3 separate regions of the Homo sapiens genome follow, and all the other regions are linked to region 1. The links are contacts of gene promoters, found by promoter capture Hi-C in human tissues and cell types (Jung and others, 2019). All regions are on one chromosome and are shown on one strand. Each heading gives the region's core, a stretch centred on a gene start or on the middle of the fragment in contact. The rest is flanking DNA. Distances are from core to core; before and after follow the strand shown. Region 1 holds the start of MDGA1 (MAM domain containing glycosylphosphatidylinositol anchor 1). Region 2 overlaps BTBD9 (BTB domain containing 9). Region 3 overlaps BTBD9 (BTB domain containing 9).

Region 1 (4,934 bases), core at 2,153-4,652:
CAGCAACGAGTTCCTGAAACCTCCTGGGGCCCAAGTGCTAGGTTTTCTTTGAGGCAAATATATATATATATATATATATATATATATATATATATACACACACACATATATATATATATATTTTTTTTTCTAGTGGGAAGTGACCTAGAATGATCTTGAGTGGAACCGAAGACTTGGCAGCTGGGTGCTGACCACCAAGCCTCCAGATAGCCTGACCTCAGGCTCATCCTGTGCCCTATGGCCCATGTCAGGTCTAGCAGTCTAGCTCTCATGTCCCCCCTGCCCTTGGTGCAATTTGGGGGCCAGAGTATTGTTCTCTGTGTCTGTAAAGGGAACAGGAAACAGTTCTTGTGGAAACATTATTTGATACCTAGGCCCTTGCCCCTCTTCAGTATAGAACAGTGGGAGAGGGCAAGGTCGCCGAGCCAAGCTACTGAGGTCAAAGCTCAGTTTGGCCCCTTAGCAGCTGAGTGAGTCACTACATCTTCCTATGTCATTCCATGAGAATAACAGCCCTGTCTTACATAATGGTTATGAAGATTAAATAGTTAATACAGTGCCTGGCATGTGGTGTCAGCTGTTATTCTTATTACTCCACTTCTCTCTAGGAAGACAGGGATCTTACCTAGTTTACATCTGGGGAAACTGAGGCCTAGAGAGGTTAGGACTGGGACGCAGGACTGATGTCTAGGGCTCTTTCCCTTCTCTGAGGTTGCCTCCCATTGTCAGACACTGGGCTGTGTTGAGGCAGCAGGCAGGGCACACTTGGGGGAGGAGACAGCTGAATTTACAGACACACACAAACAGGCTGTCAAGGTATTTACACTGCATACAATTAGCTGCAGAGTATTCACAAGTGGATTAGCTACAGCAAATGTTCAATCCCAGCCTGGCTAACTTGGTCCTCTGTTCCCCCCACCCCGCCATCATGAACCTTCTTTCTCCTCCAGGCTAGTGTGTGAGTTTAGAGAGGGCAAAGTCAAGAGAATGTCAGCTGAGTCAGTGCAGTTCTCTGTCCCCAGTAACTCACCCCAAAGCCAAAGAGGAGCAATTGACTGCTGTTTGGTGTTGGAACAGCTAATTGGAAAATCAGAGCGCAGTTTCGCACGACATGGAGAAGTACACATTCAGCTCAGAATGGGCAAAGCCAGGAAGAGCCACAGTCGCTGTGATCACTCCCTGAGAGCTTCCTGGAAGGGGTAGAGACTTCCAGGAACCCTCTAATAATGGGAAGAGGATGACAATAGAAGAAGCTATCCCTCATCACTCCCTCAATTGGCACCACTTCCTTTTCTGACTGGATGGGGGAGGCGGGAAGAGGCATGGTGGCTGTGTATCTCTGTGGGACAGAAAATGAATTTTTTGCCTTTGAGGTAACAGTCCGGGGCTGGGGAGTGAAAGGATGGCTACCCTGAGGGTATCCCAGGTCTGTGATATCTGGCCATGATGGGCATCATTCGTGAATTCACTGAACATGTCTGCAGCTGGCATCTGCTGGGAGCACCGCACTGAGTCTGGACTTCCTATCAGCCTTGGACCCACGGGGTAGAAAGGAGAGAAAAGACGGAAGAGGGCACAAGGGAGGCGCAAACGAGTGGAGGTGGGCTAGAGAATAGGAATCTTCGGATGTTCTCGGGCTTCCTGAGATGGACAGAAAGGGGGCTGAGAAAGGAAGGTGGAACCCCCCCATGCCACCAGGCACTTCCCGACACCTCCCGCTCCTCTTCCAGCAGTCAGGAGCGCGCGCTCCGGTGGGGCTTAAGCCCTGGAGAGTCAAGGGAGGAGAGACCCAGCAGGAAATGGGCCTGGGGAAGGGACGGTTCATTATTATTATTTTAAAAAAATTTATGTTTCAATTTATATGCAGACTAACCTTTTTGGAGTGTGGAGATCTTTGAGTTTTGACAAATGCATAGAGCCGTGGAACCACCATCAAGATATTGAGCAGTTCCAGGGGGCGAAGGGAGGGGGGGTTCGTAGTCTCCCCGCTTGTTAGCTGCTGCGATTGTCTGCGCTCCCACGGGCCGACCTAAAACAATTCTTGCGCACACGCTGAGATAAATAACGGCGACAGGTGGAGCAGGTGAGATTAGCAGGACCCGGGTTGGGCGCGGGGCGGGATCGGAGGCGCGGGGGAGGCCACCAGCCTCGCTTGCCAGCCTACGCCCCTCCCCGCGGGCGTTTGGGAGGAGCGTTCTCCGCACTCCTGCTCCGCGAGGGCCCCTTCGAGGCGGCTGAGACCCGAGTGCCGGACTCCCGCCGCTGGAGCGGGGCTCGGGTTCGGCAGCCGGAAGGAGGTGTGCCCCCGGGGCGCTTGGGGGCGCCTGAGGTCCCGAGGGGAGGCAAGATGGGAAGAGTGGCTAGCCGAGGAAAATGTGGGGTGACTTAGGGAAGCTCTGGCGGAGGGGTCGTGCGAGCAAACCTGTTGGCAACCTGTGGGCCGCGGCAAGGGCAGGAGCTCTCAGCGCGACCTCTCCGCCAGCTGCTCCGGCCCGGCCCCAGCACCAGACGCCTGGAAAGGGGCGGGGGCCTCTCGAGCCGGGCAGACAGCCTTGCAGACCCACAGCCGCGGCCCGTCTCGCGCGGCTGCAGGACCCCAGGAACCGCAGGCGCCCGGCCTTTCCCTAGGACCCCCGCTTCAGTCCCGCCTCCCCAAAGTGCAAAACATTTACGAAGTGTGCAGTGCCCTGCGGGCATGGGTCTCCGAAGCGAGCGGCCGTGTTTGCCCCGCGGGCTGCTGGCAACGGTGCACCCGGCTCGGCCAGCTAGTCTGGGTGTGCAAGGCTGGAGAACAGCGAGTGTGCGAGCGCGCGGCTGCAGAGCCCCCGCCGAAACCCAGGTCCCTCCGCCACTGTCCTCGGGATAGATGGATCCATTTCTGCTTTCTGACATTTTCCTGCTGGGCGGGGTTGGGGGGGAATGTTAGGGGGCGGAGAGAGGAAGAGAGAGAGAGGGAGAGGAGAAAGGGAAAGAGAGGAGAGGAGAGGAAGGGAGAGAGAGCGAGAGGGAGAGAGAGAGGAGAGAGAGAAGAGAGAGAGAGGAGAGAGAGAGAAAGAGAGAGAGAGAGAGAGAGAGAGAGAGAGAGAGAGAGAGAGAGAGAGAGAAAGAGAAAGAGAAAGAGAAAGAGAAAGGCAGGCAGTCAGCTTCCCCCAGCCCTGTTTTGTTTTCTCTAATTGGTCCTGGGGGAGGCGAGGAAATTGGACAGAGGCTGGGCCAGGCGAGCTGGGCTGCCTTTAATTGGCTCCTTTTTTTAACTGGAGGGGAATCAAACAGGAGAGCGAGCGACAACGGGTGGGAGAGCGAGAGACCGAACGAGGAGACGCGAGGAGGAGGGAGGAGGAAGAGAGGGAGGGAGGCGGGAGGAGCGCGGAATGAAAAGCTCGGAGGGGCGAAAAAGCAGCACAGCAAAGCCCAAGTTGCTGAGCGAGCGGAGCGCTCCCGCGGCCCGGAGCCGAGCGGCCGCCGCGCCCCGGAGCCCGGCCCGGCCCCGCCCGCTCTGGGCCCCCGCAGGCCAAGGCCGCCGGGCGGGGGCGGGGACGACCAACTTGGGGCGCGGCGTAGCCCCGCTCTCCCGAGAGCTCGGAGCCCGGGAGGGCTACGGCCGCGGCCAGACGGCGGGAGAGGAGCGCGGCGAGCGGAGGCGGCGAGCGGCGCCCGCGCCGCAGCCCCGGCCTGGGCGAGAGCGCGAATATTTTTCAAAAGACTCAAACTTTCCTCCTTTCCCCGTTTTCTGGGGCCCTTCTTGCCTGGAATTGCTCTCCAGATTCCCGCGGGGCGCCGGGCTGCTATTCTTCCCCCGGGTTTATCGGCGGCTCGGCTAACTTCACGGACCCGGGGACCCGCGGCGCTCGTCCCTCGGCCGAACCCAGCCCGCGCTGCTCCCCGGATCAGGAGGGCCGGGCCCGGGGCTGCTTCGCCGCCGCGAGTGCTTTCAGCCCGGCCCCCTGGAGTCGGGCCGCTGAGCCCACGGCAGCGGCCGCAGGACTGGAAACAGCAGATTGATTAACTCGAGCGGAGCCCCGGCCTCCCCGACTCCGCTCCGCTGAGGGGCGGCCCCAGTGCGGGGAAACGACAAGTTTGTCAGTCGTCCGTGGCCTGTTGGATCGAAGCGCCGCCTCCGCCGCCGAGAGGTCCCCGGCGCCTAGCATCCCGCGCGGACGGCCCTGGGTACCCGGGGCGGCTCGGCGGCCGGGCTCCTCGGGTCGGGGCGCTGGCTGCTGTGCCGGGCGCGCCGAGGCACCCGGGGCTGGGCCAGCGCCCCCTGCGTCCCCACGCGGGCAGCGGCCCCGCCGGAGGAGAAACACGGGTCGCCGCCACCTCCGCCTCTTCAGTCTCCTGGTCTTCGTCGCCGCTCTCTCTCTCACCTCTCAGGGAAAGGGGGGGACATAGGGGCGTCGCGGGGCCCCGGCGAATGCGCCCCCCGCCGCCTCTCGGGCTGCGCCGCCTCGCGGGGATGAAGCACCGGCCGTGAAGATGGAGGTGACCTGCCTTCTACTTCTGGCGCTGATCCCCTTCCACTGCCGGGGACAAGGAGTCTACGGTAAGAGCCCGCGTCCCGCTCCACCTTGGCTTAACCTCGCGCGGAAACTTTGCAAGAGGCGCAAAGTGCGCGCTGCCGGGGTTTGGTGGAGACCTCGACTCGGACTCTGGAGTGGATGCCCGCGTCCCCGCCCTCTCCAGGGCGCGTGGAGACCGAGCTAGCTGCTTCGGAACACAGGGGCCGGTCGTAGGGTCTGGTGGGAAGCCGGGATGTCAGGAGGAGGCACCCACTTTCCCACACCCTGCTAGAGGTGGGAATGATTAGGAACCCTTGAGAGCACCCGGTCGGCTCGGGAGACCCGGACAGACCCAGTCTAGGACTGGTGCAGCGACTTGCACCGAAACCTCGTCCTGGCTCGGCCTCCGGAGTGGAAGCCAAGCGATGCATGAGCCGG
Region 2 (4,934 bases), core at 1,676-4,175, 680 kb before region 1:
GAGCTGGTCCTTAAGGGAGCTACCAGGTAGGTCAAAATCCACAACCACAATTAGTTGAGATTAAGGTTCTTATTGTTCCCTCTGGCACTGGACACCTTCACCAGCAGTGTGGGCTGCTGTCCTCACAGCCACCACAAATCTAAGGTGTTGTGGGAGATAGTAGGTGGGCAATTTAAAACACCACAGTGCTCTCTTACTGCAGCAGCTTCCTTCTTCACCAAGCCTTCCCCTAATTGTTGAAGGGTTTTAATTAGGTTCCATAATTCTGCAAAAGTTGATTCGGACAGTTTTTGCCAGTACTTTAGTTGATTTTCATTAAGAGATGGAACCCTGGAGTCTCTTACTACACTATTTTTAGTGATGTCATCCCACAAGTTTTAGTAATTGTTATTTTCATTAATTGTTATTTTCATTATTATTCTTATATTATCTAAGTATTTTCTAATTTCCATTACTTATTTTTTCTTTGACCCGTGGATTCTTTGGAAATGTATTTAGATTGCAGTCGTACGTGTGTTTTTGATGTTATTTTTAAGGTGTGTATGTATGTGTGTATGTAGAGTTGTTATTGTTTTCCAGTTGATTGATTGTGATTAGAGAAAGTGATCTGTGTGATACTGATCCTTTAAAATTTGTTGACGCTTACCTAGAACGTAGTCTTTAAAAATAAAATCCTTTGTGTACTTGAAAAGAATGTATATTTTTCAGTTATTGAGAACATTATTCTCTTTATGTTCATGTTATTTTAATTATGTTGCTCAAATATTCTATATTTTTTCTGACTTTGTCTGGTTGATCTATCAGTTGCTGAGAGAAAGCAGTTAAAATCTGCCATTGATAGTGGATTTCTCAGTTTCTCAGTTTGCTACTTTTTGCTTAGTATATTTTGAAACTATATTAGCTGCATATGCACTTAGAATTGTTATATATTTATAATTAAGTGAACCTTTTATCAGTATATAGTTACCCTCTTTCTTGAGTAATGCTTTTTGCTTTAATGTCTGTTTTTTCTGACATTATTGTAACTTTTGCATCTACACTTGTTATGTCTTTTTCCATACCTTTAGTTTCAGGCTTCCTTTGCCCTTATATTTTATTGTTTCTTGTAAATAGCGTGTCATAGGATTTTACTTTTCTTCAGTTTGGTTATCTGTCTTTTAAACTATAGAATTTAGTCCATGTACATTAATTATGTTTCCTAATACATTTGATCTATTTCTCCCCTATCATTTTTTGCTATTTGTTGAATTTTTTTAAATTTTACTTCTTTTATTCTTTCCTCCTTTTATGTTTACTTTTGTATTGTTGCTTTTCTTCTTTCTGGTTTCTGACCCCCTCTTACTATACTGGAAGTTATACATCCTATTTTAGTGGTTATACTAGATTTCAGAAATTTTAACATGCATTTTTAATTTGCTATTCTAACATGCATTTTTAATTTGCTATTCTAAAGTTAAACCATTTCTTTACCCTTTTTCCTTTTCCTTTGTAGAGACAGGGTCTCGCTCTGTTGCCCAGGCTGAAGTGCAGTGTCATGATCATAGCTCACTGCAGCCTAGAGCTCCTATGCTCAAGGGATCCTCCCACCTCAGCCTTCTGAATAGCTGGGACTACAGGCGCACATTACCACTCCCAGCTGTATTTTAAAAAAACTCTTTCCTTTTCCTTTTTAGAGACAGGGTCTTGCTGTGTTTCCCAGATTGATCTCAAACTCTTGGCCTCAAGTATACCTCCTGCCTCAGCCTCCCAAAATGCTGGGATTATAGGCATGAGCCACCTCACCCAGCCTACCCTCTTCTAGACTCAATAAGGATGTTAGAAGAGAGTTATTTCCCATCACCCTTGATCTGACCTATATGCTGTTCTTTCCTAGAATTTTATTTGATTTTTAACCCACAAGTGGGACAATATTATTGTTTTATCTAGTCAATGTGTGTTTAGCATTATCCATAAATATTTCCTATTCTTGGCTCACCATTCCTTCTTGCATCTCAGATTTTCCTTCTGGGATCATTTTTCTTCTTCCTGAAGTATATCTTTCAGAATTTCCTTTAGTAAGAATCTGTTGATGATGAATTCTTTTATTTTTCTTTGTCTGGAAATTCCTTATTTTGAAATTATGAAAGTTCTATCTTTATTTCACCCATATTCTTGAAAATAATTTCATTTCATATATGTTTACAATTTTTTTATTTTTATTAAAGTAATACAGGCATATACTTTAAAAAGTCAAATAGTACTAAAGAGCATATAGTATATAACAAATACAGCAATTCCCACACCCACCTTTCTTCATTTACTCCAGTCTCCATCTCCAAAGGCAATGACTTACCACTCTTTTAGCTCTTTCTTTGGGCATTTATACATACCTATATTTTCTATGTGGGACATCTTTCTTTTGATTAATCAATTGTAGTCACCTTCTATTAATTTCCTAATATGACAATAGATGACTGTTTGGCTCTTTTACACTGCCGTCTCCTGTGCATTCCTTCCCTATCCTCCCAATATAGTTATGTTACAATTTGTAGTAAAAGTAATTTTCACTGTGGTCATGCAAATATAATTAATATCCGAGCATATGTGGTATGATTGTTTCCCTTCTTGTTTGATTGTTTTTCCTGAAGTTAGTTTTTAATACTTATTGATAATCTTTTTTACACCTTCTAGTAGCATCTAAATACAGTTTTCTCCCAGCACTCTGTTTCCTTTTTTTCTTAAGAGATATCCTTTCTAGAACCTTCTTTACCTTCTTGCTTTCTCAGCCTTATGCACAGCTGTCAATCTGAGCCTCTCCTTTGTTGCTATCCTTGGAATTCTCTTTGCCTGTCTCCCAAATTGAATTTCATACTTCTTTGATTTCTTCTCTTCCATTTCTTGGATTAATCCCTTATTTTAGTAGAGCAAACCCGCTAGAAGATTTGTCAGATTACAGAGATTACAGTGGTGATGAGAGCCTTTAATATTCAAGTCTTTTGAATTAAGTTGCTTCAGTCTGAACTGGCTGCCCTCTAAGCTTTCACCCCATTCTTACCTGTATTTCAGCCCTATCTCCTTTTGCAAGATAGATTTCTTTCTTTTTTGAAAGTCAGCCACTAAAAATGTTGCCTTTTGGGAGTCTGGACTTTGTTCAGGAGCCTCTGCTTCAGCATCTCTCCCTGTTCAGACCCCAAGCTTTATCTCCTTTCCCCAAGCCTACATGTGGCCTGTTAAAATCCAAACTGCTACCGGGGATCAGCAGATGACCTCAGGGTAGAGTGATCATATATCTTGGTATGCCTGGAAAATTATTAATTTGCTGTAGCCTAGTTATTCATACTTAAAAATGTCCGGGTTTGGGCGATAAATTATATGGTCACCCTACATCAGAGCAAACACCAGCTCTAAGTCTTACTCATCCCTGGGGAATGGTTCCTTTCCAACGATTCTTGCCTCCCCTTTTTTTTCTTTTTTTTTTTTTTTGAGATGGAGTCTTGCTTTGTCGCCCAGGCTGGAGTGCAGTAGTGCCATATCGGCTCACTGCAACCTCCGCCTCCTGGGTTCAAGTGATTCTTCTGCCTCAGCCTCCCGAGTAGCTGAGATTACAGGTACCCACCACCACGCCCAGCTAATTTTTGTATTTTTAGTAGAGATGGGGTTTCACTATGTTGGTCAGGCCGATCTAGAACTCCTGACCTCAAGCGGTCTACCTGACTTGGCCTCCCAAAGTGCTGGGATTACAGGCATGAGCCACTGCACCTGGCCTTTACTGCCAACTTAACCATACTTTTAAGAGAATTTAAGTTTAAGTGTTTCGTTTAGGGCCAGGTGCGGTGGCTCATGCCTGTAATCCCAGCACTTCAGGAGGCAGAGTGGGCAGATCGTCTGAGGTCAGGACCAGCCTGGCCAACATGGTGAAACCCCGTCTCTACTAAAAATACGAAAATTACCCAGGTATGGTGATATGTGCCTGCAATCCCAGCTACTAAGGAGGCTGAGGCAGGAGAGTTGTTTAAACCTAGGAGGTGGAGGTTGCAGTGAGCCAAGATCACACCACTGCACTCCAGCCTGGGCGACACAGCAAGACTCCATCTCAAAAAAAAAAAAAAAAGAAAAGTTTTGCCTATGATTTTTAGATGTTCTTCATGAGGAGGGGTTTCTCTGCACATAAGTTAGCTATATTGCTGTATAAGGAAATCCTGTCAATGATAGATGCAGGAGGCAGATAAGGGGGAGGGTTCCCCGAGAGTCGTCCTCCACTGGGAGGACGGGGCGGAGCCATGGGAAGTTCGGAAGTTCACACTGTTTGCCAGGGGAAGAATCACATGACCAGGAAAATTTAGACAACGCAGACATATTGAAGGGTGAGTAGAGCAGGATTTTAGCTGAACTAAGGAGCAAAATTCTGCAGCACCTGTATCTTTTAAAATATCTTTTTCAAGAAGGAATCTAAAGATTTCTTTTTAAGGAAGAAGTTGGTACATTGATTTCTTATACCACCCTATTGATTATATAACAATTCCTGTATTAGAAAAAGTAGTAATTCTATTAACAAGAAAAAAAATACTATGTGGAAAATTAATGTTTTGGGTAAATATGATTATGAAAAAGAAGATAGGAACATCAATCTTCTTTGATAGATGGTTAAAAAATAACCTTCTCAAATATTGCAACTGGGAATTCCAAGGAGAGTCCAGAGTTATTAAAGTGAGTGAGGTATAGTTCTGGGTAGGTCTGATGAAGGTATGTGTGGGTGTCCGTGTGTGTGTGCATGCCTGTATGCACCTGTGCATGTTCTTAGTTTGTAAGAACCCAAGAGTGAAACGCACAGTAAATTGAGAAATACCAAAGTAGACATTATATCTTGTTCCTTTTATTTGGGTAATAGATTGCTTTGGCCTCAGCTGTAACAGTTGCATACTATCATTGGTTTCTGATATTCTTAAAAGGTACCA
Region 3 (4,934 bases), core at 1,216-3,715, 600 kb before region 1:
TTTTTTTTCCACATTGCAATTTAATTAAAAATCAGTAACAGAAAGACAACTTGAAAAACGATGTTTAGAAAGTTGAAAACGTACTTCTGAATAATTCGTGGGTCAAAGGAAAAATGATAAAGGAAATTATAAAATATTTAGAAATGATTAACTTTTAAAATACTGTATATCAGACAAACCCAAATTGAGGGACATTCTACACAATACCTGACTGGTACACTTCAAAACACTAAATATCAAAAAATTGTAAAGGTGAAACAGGAGTTAGAAGTAAAATACTATATTAGCTTTAAATACATTTTTTTAGAAAAGAAAAAGATTAGTGAGTTAAACATTCATTTCAAGTAGTTAGGAAAAAAATAGAATAAATCCAAAGGAGCAGGAGGAAGAAAATAATAAAGAGAAGACAGGAATTTAGTAAAATAGGAAATAAGGAAAAGAATCAACAAAACCCAATGTTGGTTCTTTAAGAGCACTAATAAAATAGATAAACCTGTATAGAACTGGGCAAAAAAGAAAGGCAAGGTATAATAAATAATACTTTGAATGAAAAAGAGCTATACTGTGAAATATTGTATGCCAGTATGTTTGAAAACTTAAACAAAATAAAAAATTTTCCTGAAAGGGCCAAGAATATATGACAATGTAAAAGAAAAAAGAAAAGGAAAAGGAGGGGGAGAAGAGGAGCTAACTAAGATTTACAATTACTTTAAAATTATGGTAATTAAGACAGCATGGTAAAGGCACAAGGCTAGTCAAATCAACCAGTGAAACAGAATACAGATCTTTTTTTGTTTTTGTTTCTGTTTTTTTGAGACAGAGTCTCGCTTTGTTGCCTAGGCTGGAGTGGAGTGGCATGATCTCGGCCCACTGCAACCTTAACTTCCCAAGTTCAAGCGATTCTCCTGCCTCAGCCTCCCAATAGCTGGGATTACAGGCATGCACCATCACACCCAGCTAATTTTTGTATTTTTAGTAGAGATGGGGTTTCATCATGTTGGCCAAGCTGGTCTCAAACTCCTGGCCTCAAGTGCTCCGCCTGCCTCCGCCTCCCAAAGAGCTGGGATTATTACAGGCATGAGCCACCATATCCAGCCTCAGAATACAGATCTTAAATGGAGATGCAAATATATACAAAAACTTCATATGTGACTAAAGTAACATAAATTAGTGGGGGAAAGGATGGGCTGTTCACTAAATGCTATTTGGGGAAATTAGTCATATTTATAAATAAAAGATGAAAATCCTCATCTCACAGCATACTAAAAATAAATTCTGAATAGATTAAAGAAACAAACATAAAAAGAAAAGTTTGAGAAATTGTAGGAGAAAATTAGGAAAATATCCTTATGAATTTGGTGTAGGAAAGAACTTATAAACAAGAAAGGAAAAGTTTGCCAGGCGTGGTGGCTCATGCCTATAACCCCAGCACTTTGGGAAGCTGAAGCAGGAGGATTGCTTGAGCCCAGGAGTTCAAGACCAGCCTGGGCAACAAAATGGGACCTCGTCTCTATAAAAAATTTAAAAAATTAGCCAGGCATGATGGCACCTGCCTATGGTTCCAGCTACTCGAGAGGCTGAGGCAGGAGGATTGCTTGAGCCTGGGAGTCCAAGGCTGTAGTGAACCGTGATCGTACCACTGCACTCCAGCCTGGATGACAGAATGAGACCGTGTCTCAACAACAACAACAATAATAGAATTTTTTTGAAAAGGGAAAAGCATAAGTCATAAAGAAAAAGATTAAATATTTCAACTCAATAAATTGACCTACAAAAGCTTGGCATCCTGAAAATCAATTAGAAAGATAATAGAAAAATAGGCAAAAGATAAAAATAGTTTACAGAAGAGAAATTGAGAATGATTCCAGAGGGAAAAAAAGAGAAAAAAAAATGTTCAACTTCACCTAACAAAAAAGTTAAAAGCTAAAATCACACTGAGATCCCATTTCACACTTACCTGTCTGACATTACCAGGAGTTGGTGAGGATGTGGAGCAATTAGTTGAGAGTATAAAGGTTTTTTTTTTTTTTGGCACAAAATTTTATTTTCTTATTTTTTTATTATACTTTAAGTTCTGGGATACATGTGCAGAATGTGCAGGTTTGTTACATAGGTATACACATGCCATGGTGGTTTGCTGCACCCATCAACCCATCATCTACATTAGGTATTTCTCGTAATGCTATCCCTCTCCTAGATCCCCACCCCCTGACAGGCCCCTGTGTGTGATGTTCCTCTCCCTGTGTCCATGTGTTCTCATTGTTTAACTCCCACTTATGAGTGAGAACATGTGGGGTTTGGTTTTCTGTTCCTGTGTTAGTTTGCTGAGAGTGATGATTTCCAGCTCCATGCATGTCCCTGCAAAGGACATGAACTCATCCTTTTTATGGCTGCATAGTACTCCATGGTGTATATGTGCCACATTTTCTTTATCCAGTCTATCATTGATGGGCATTTGGGTTGGTTCCAAGTCTTTGCTATTGTGAACATATGTGTGCATGTCTCTTTATAGCAGCATGATTTATAATCCTTTGGGTATATACCCAGTAATGAGATGGCTGGGTCAAATGGTATTTCTGGTTCTAGATTCTTGAGGAATCGCCACATTGACTTCCACAATGGTTGAACTAGTTTACAGTCCCACCAACAGTGTAAAAGTGTTCCTAATTCTCCACATCCTCTCCAGCATCTGTTGTTTCCTGACTTTTAATGATCGCCATTCTAACTGGCATGAGATGGTATCTCGTTGTGGTTTTGATTTGCATTTCTCTAATGGCCAGTGATGTTGAGCTTTTTTTCATACGTTTGTTGGCATAAATGTCTTCTTTTGAGAAGTGTCTGTTCATATCCTTTGCATGCTTTTTGATGGGGTTGTTTGTTTTTTTTCTTGTAAATTTGTTGAAGTTCCTTGTAGATTCTGGATATTAGCCCTTTGTCAGATGGATAGATTGCAAAAATTTTCTCCCATTCTGTAGGTTGCCTGTTCACTCTGATGATGGTTTCTTTTGCTGTGCAGAAGCTCTTTAGTTCAATTAGATCCCATTTGTCAATTTTGGCTTTTGTTGCCATTGTTTTTCGTGTTTTAGTCATGAAGTCTTTGCCCATGCCTATGTCCTGAATGGTACTGCCTCTAGGTTTTCTTCTAGAGTTTTTATAGTTTTAGGTCTTATATTTAAGACTTTAATCCATCTTGAGTTAATTTTTGTATAAAGTGTAAGGAAGGGGTTCAGTTTCAGTTTTCTGCATGTGGCTAGCCAGTTTTCCCAGCACCATTTATTAAATAGGGAATCCTTTCCCCGTTGCTTGTTTTTGTCAGGTTTGTCAAAGATCAGATGGTTGTAGATATGTGGCATTATTTCTGAGGCCTCTGTTCTGTTCCATTGGTCCATATATCTATTTGGTACCAGTACCATGCTGTTTTGGTTACTGTAGCTTTGTAGTGTAGTTTGAAGTCAGGTAGGATAATGCCTCCAGCTTTGTTCTTTTTTCTTAGGATTGTCTTGGCTATGCAAGCTCTTTTTTGGTTCCATGTGAAATTTAAAGTAGTTTTTTCTAATTCTATGAAGAAATTCAATGGAGCTTGATGGGGATAGCATTGAATCTATAAATTACTTTGGGCAGTATGGCCATTTTCACGATATTGATTTTTCCTATCCATGAAAAACAAATGGAATGTTTTTCCATTCGTTTGTGTTCTCTCTTATTTCCTTGAGCAGTGGAGAAACTCACTCAAAACTGCACAACTACATGGAAACTGAACAACTGCTCCTGAATGATTACTGGGTAAATAATATAATTAAGGCAGAAATAAATAAGTTCTTTGAAACCAATGAGAACAAAGACACAACATACCAGAATCTCTGGGACACAGCTAAAGCAGTGTTCAGAGGGAAATTTATAGCACTAAATGCCCACAGGAGAAAGCAGGAAAGGCCTAAAATCGACACCCTAACATCACAATTAAAAGAACTAGAGAAGCAAGAGCAAACAAATTCAAAAACTCGCAGAAGACAAGAAATAACTAAGAGGAGAGCAGAACTGAAGGAGATAGAGACATGAAAAACCCTTCAAAAAATCAATGCATCCAGGAGCTGGTTTTTTGAAAAGATTGACAAAATAGATAGACCACTAGCCAGACTAATAAAGAAGAAAAGAGAGAAGAATCAAATAGACACAATAAAAAAATGATAAAGGGAATATCACCACTGATCCCACAGAAATATAAACTACCATCAGAGAATACTATAAACACCTCTAAGCAAATAAAGTAGAAAACCTAGAAGAAATGGATAAATTCCTGGACACATACACCCTCCCAAGACTAAAGCAGGAAGAAGTCGAATCCCTGAATAGACCAATAACAAATTCTGAAATTGAGGCAGTAATTAATAGCCTACCAACCAAAAAAAAGCCCAGGACCAAAAGGATTCACAGCCGAATTCTACCAGAGGTACAAAGAGGAGCTGGTACCATTCCTTCTGAAACTATTCCAAACAATAGAAAAAGAAGGACTCCTCTGTAACTCATTTTATGAGGCCAGCATCATCCTGATACCAAAACCTGGCAGAGACACAACAACAACAAAAAAGAAAATTTCAGCCGGGCGTGGTGGCTCATGCCTGTAATCCCAGCACTTTGGGAGGCTGAGGCTGGTGGATCACCTGAGGTCAGGAGTTCAAGACCAACCTGACCAACAAGGTGAAACCCCGTGTCTACTAAAAATACAAAAAAATTAGCCAGGTGTGGTGGCAACCGCCTGTAATCCCAGCTACTTGGGAGGCTGAGGCAGGAGAATTGCTTGAGCTGGGCAGGCGGAGGCTGCAGTGAGCTGAGATTTCGCTACTGCACTCCGGCCTGGGCAACAAGAGCAAAACTTCGTCTCAAAAAAAAAAAAAGAAAGAAAAAAGAAAATTGCAGGCCAATATCCCTGATGA

What was found. Contacts are between HindIII fragments. The study calls those that stand out against the background at their distance.
Region 2: a contact is called between a fragment that was not itself captured here and the fragment with the promoter of MDGA1 in region 1, in 1 of the 25 tissues and cell types used here (H1 embryonic stem cells).
Region 3: a fragment that was not itself captured here is called in contact with the fragment with the promoter of MDGA1 in region 1 in 2 of the 25 tissues and cell types used here (dorsolateral prefrontal cortex and hippocampus).

What each region holds. Positions count from the first base shown.
Region 1 is chr6:37,696,351-37,701,284 of GRCh38, reverse strand. MDGA1 (MAM domain containing glycosylphosphatidylinositol anchor 1) reads left to right here and starts at 3,402. Exons shown (of 17, transcript NM_153487.4): 1 at 3,402-4,540. The coding sequence starts at 4,474. RefSeq lists silencers at 2,291-2,360, 2,381-2,450, 3,317-3,446, 3,467-3,536, 3,597-3,726 and 3 more and enhancers at 4,049-4,778, 4,779-4,934. The HindIII fragment of the contact is 32,962 bases long and covers 1-4,934 here.
Region 2 is chr6:38,377,402-38,382,335 of GRCh38, reverse strand. All of the region lies in intron 6 of BTBD9 (BTB domain containing 9), which reads left to right. Among named protein-coding and RNA genes, the nearest start is that of BTBD9-AS1, 100 kb to the left of the region's middle. The HindIII fragment of the contact is 4,681 bases long and covers 585-4,934 here.
Region 3 is chr6:38,291,927-38,296,860 of GRCh38, reverse strand. The region is part of intron 7 of BTBD9 (BTB domain containing 9); the gene reads left to right. Among named protein-coding and RNA genes, the nearest start is that of BTBD9-AS1, 190 kb to the left of the region's middle. The HindIII fragment of the contact is 6,702 bases long and covers 1-4,934 here.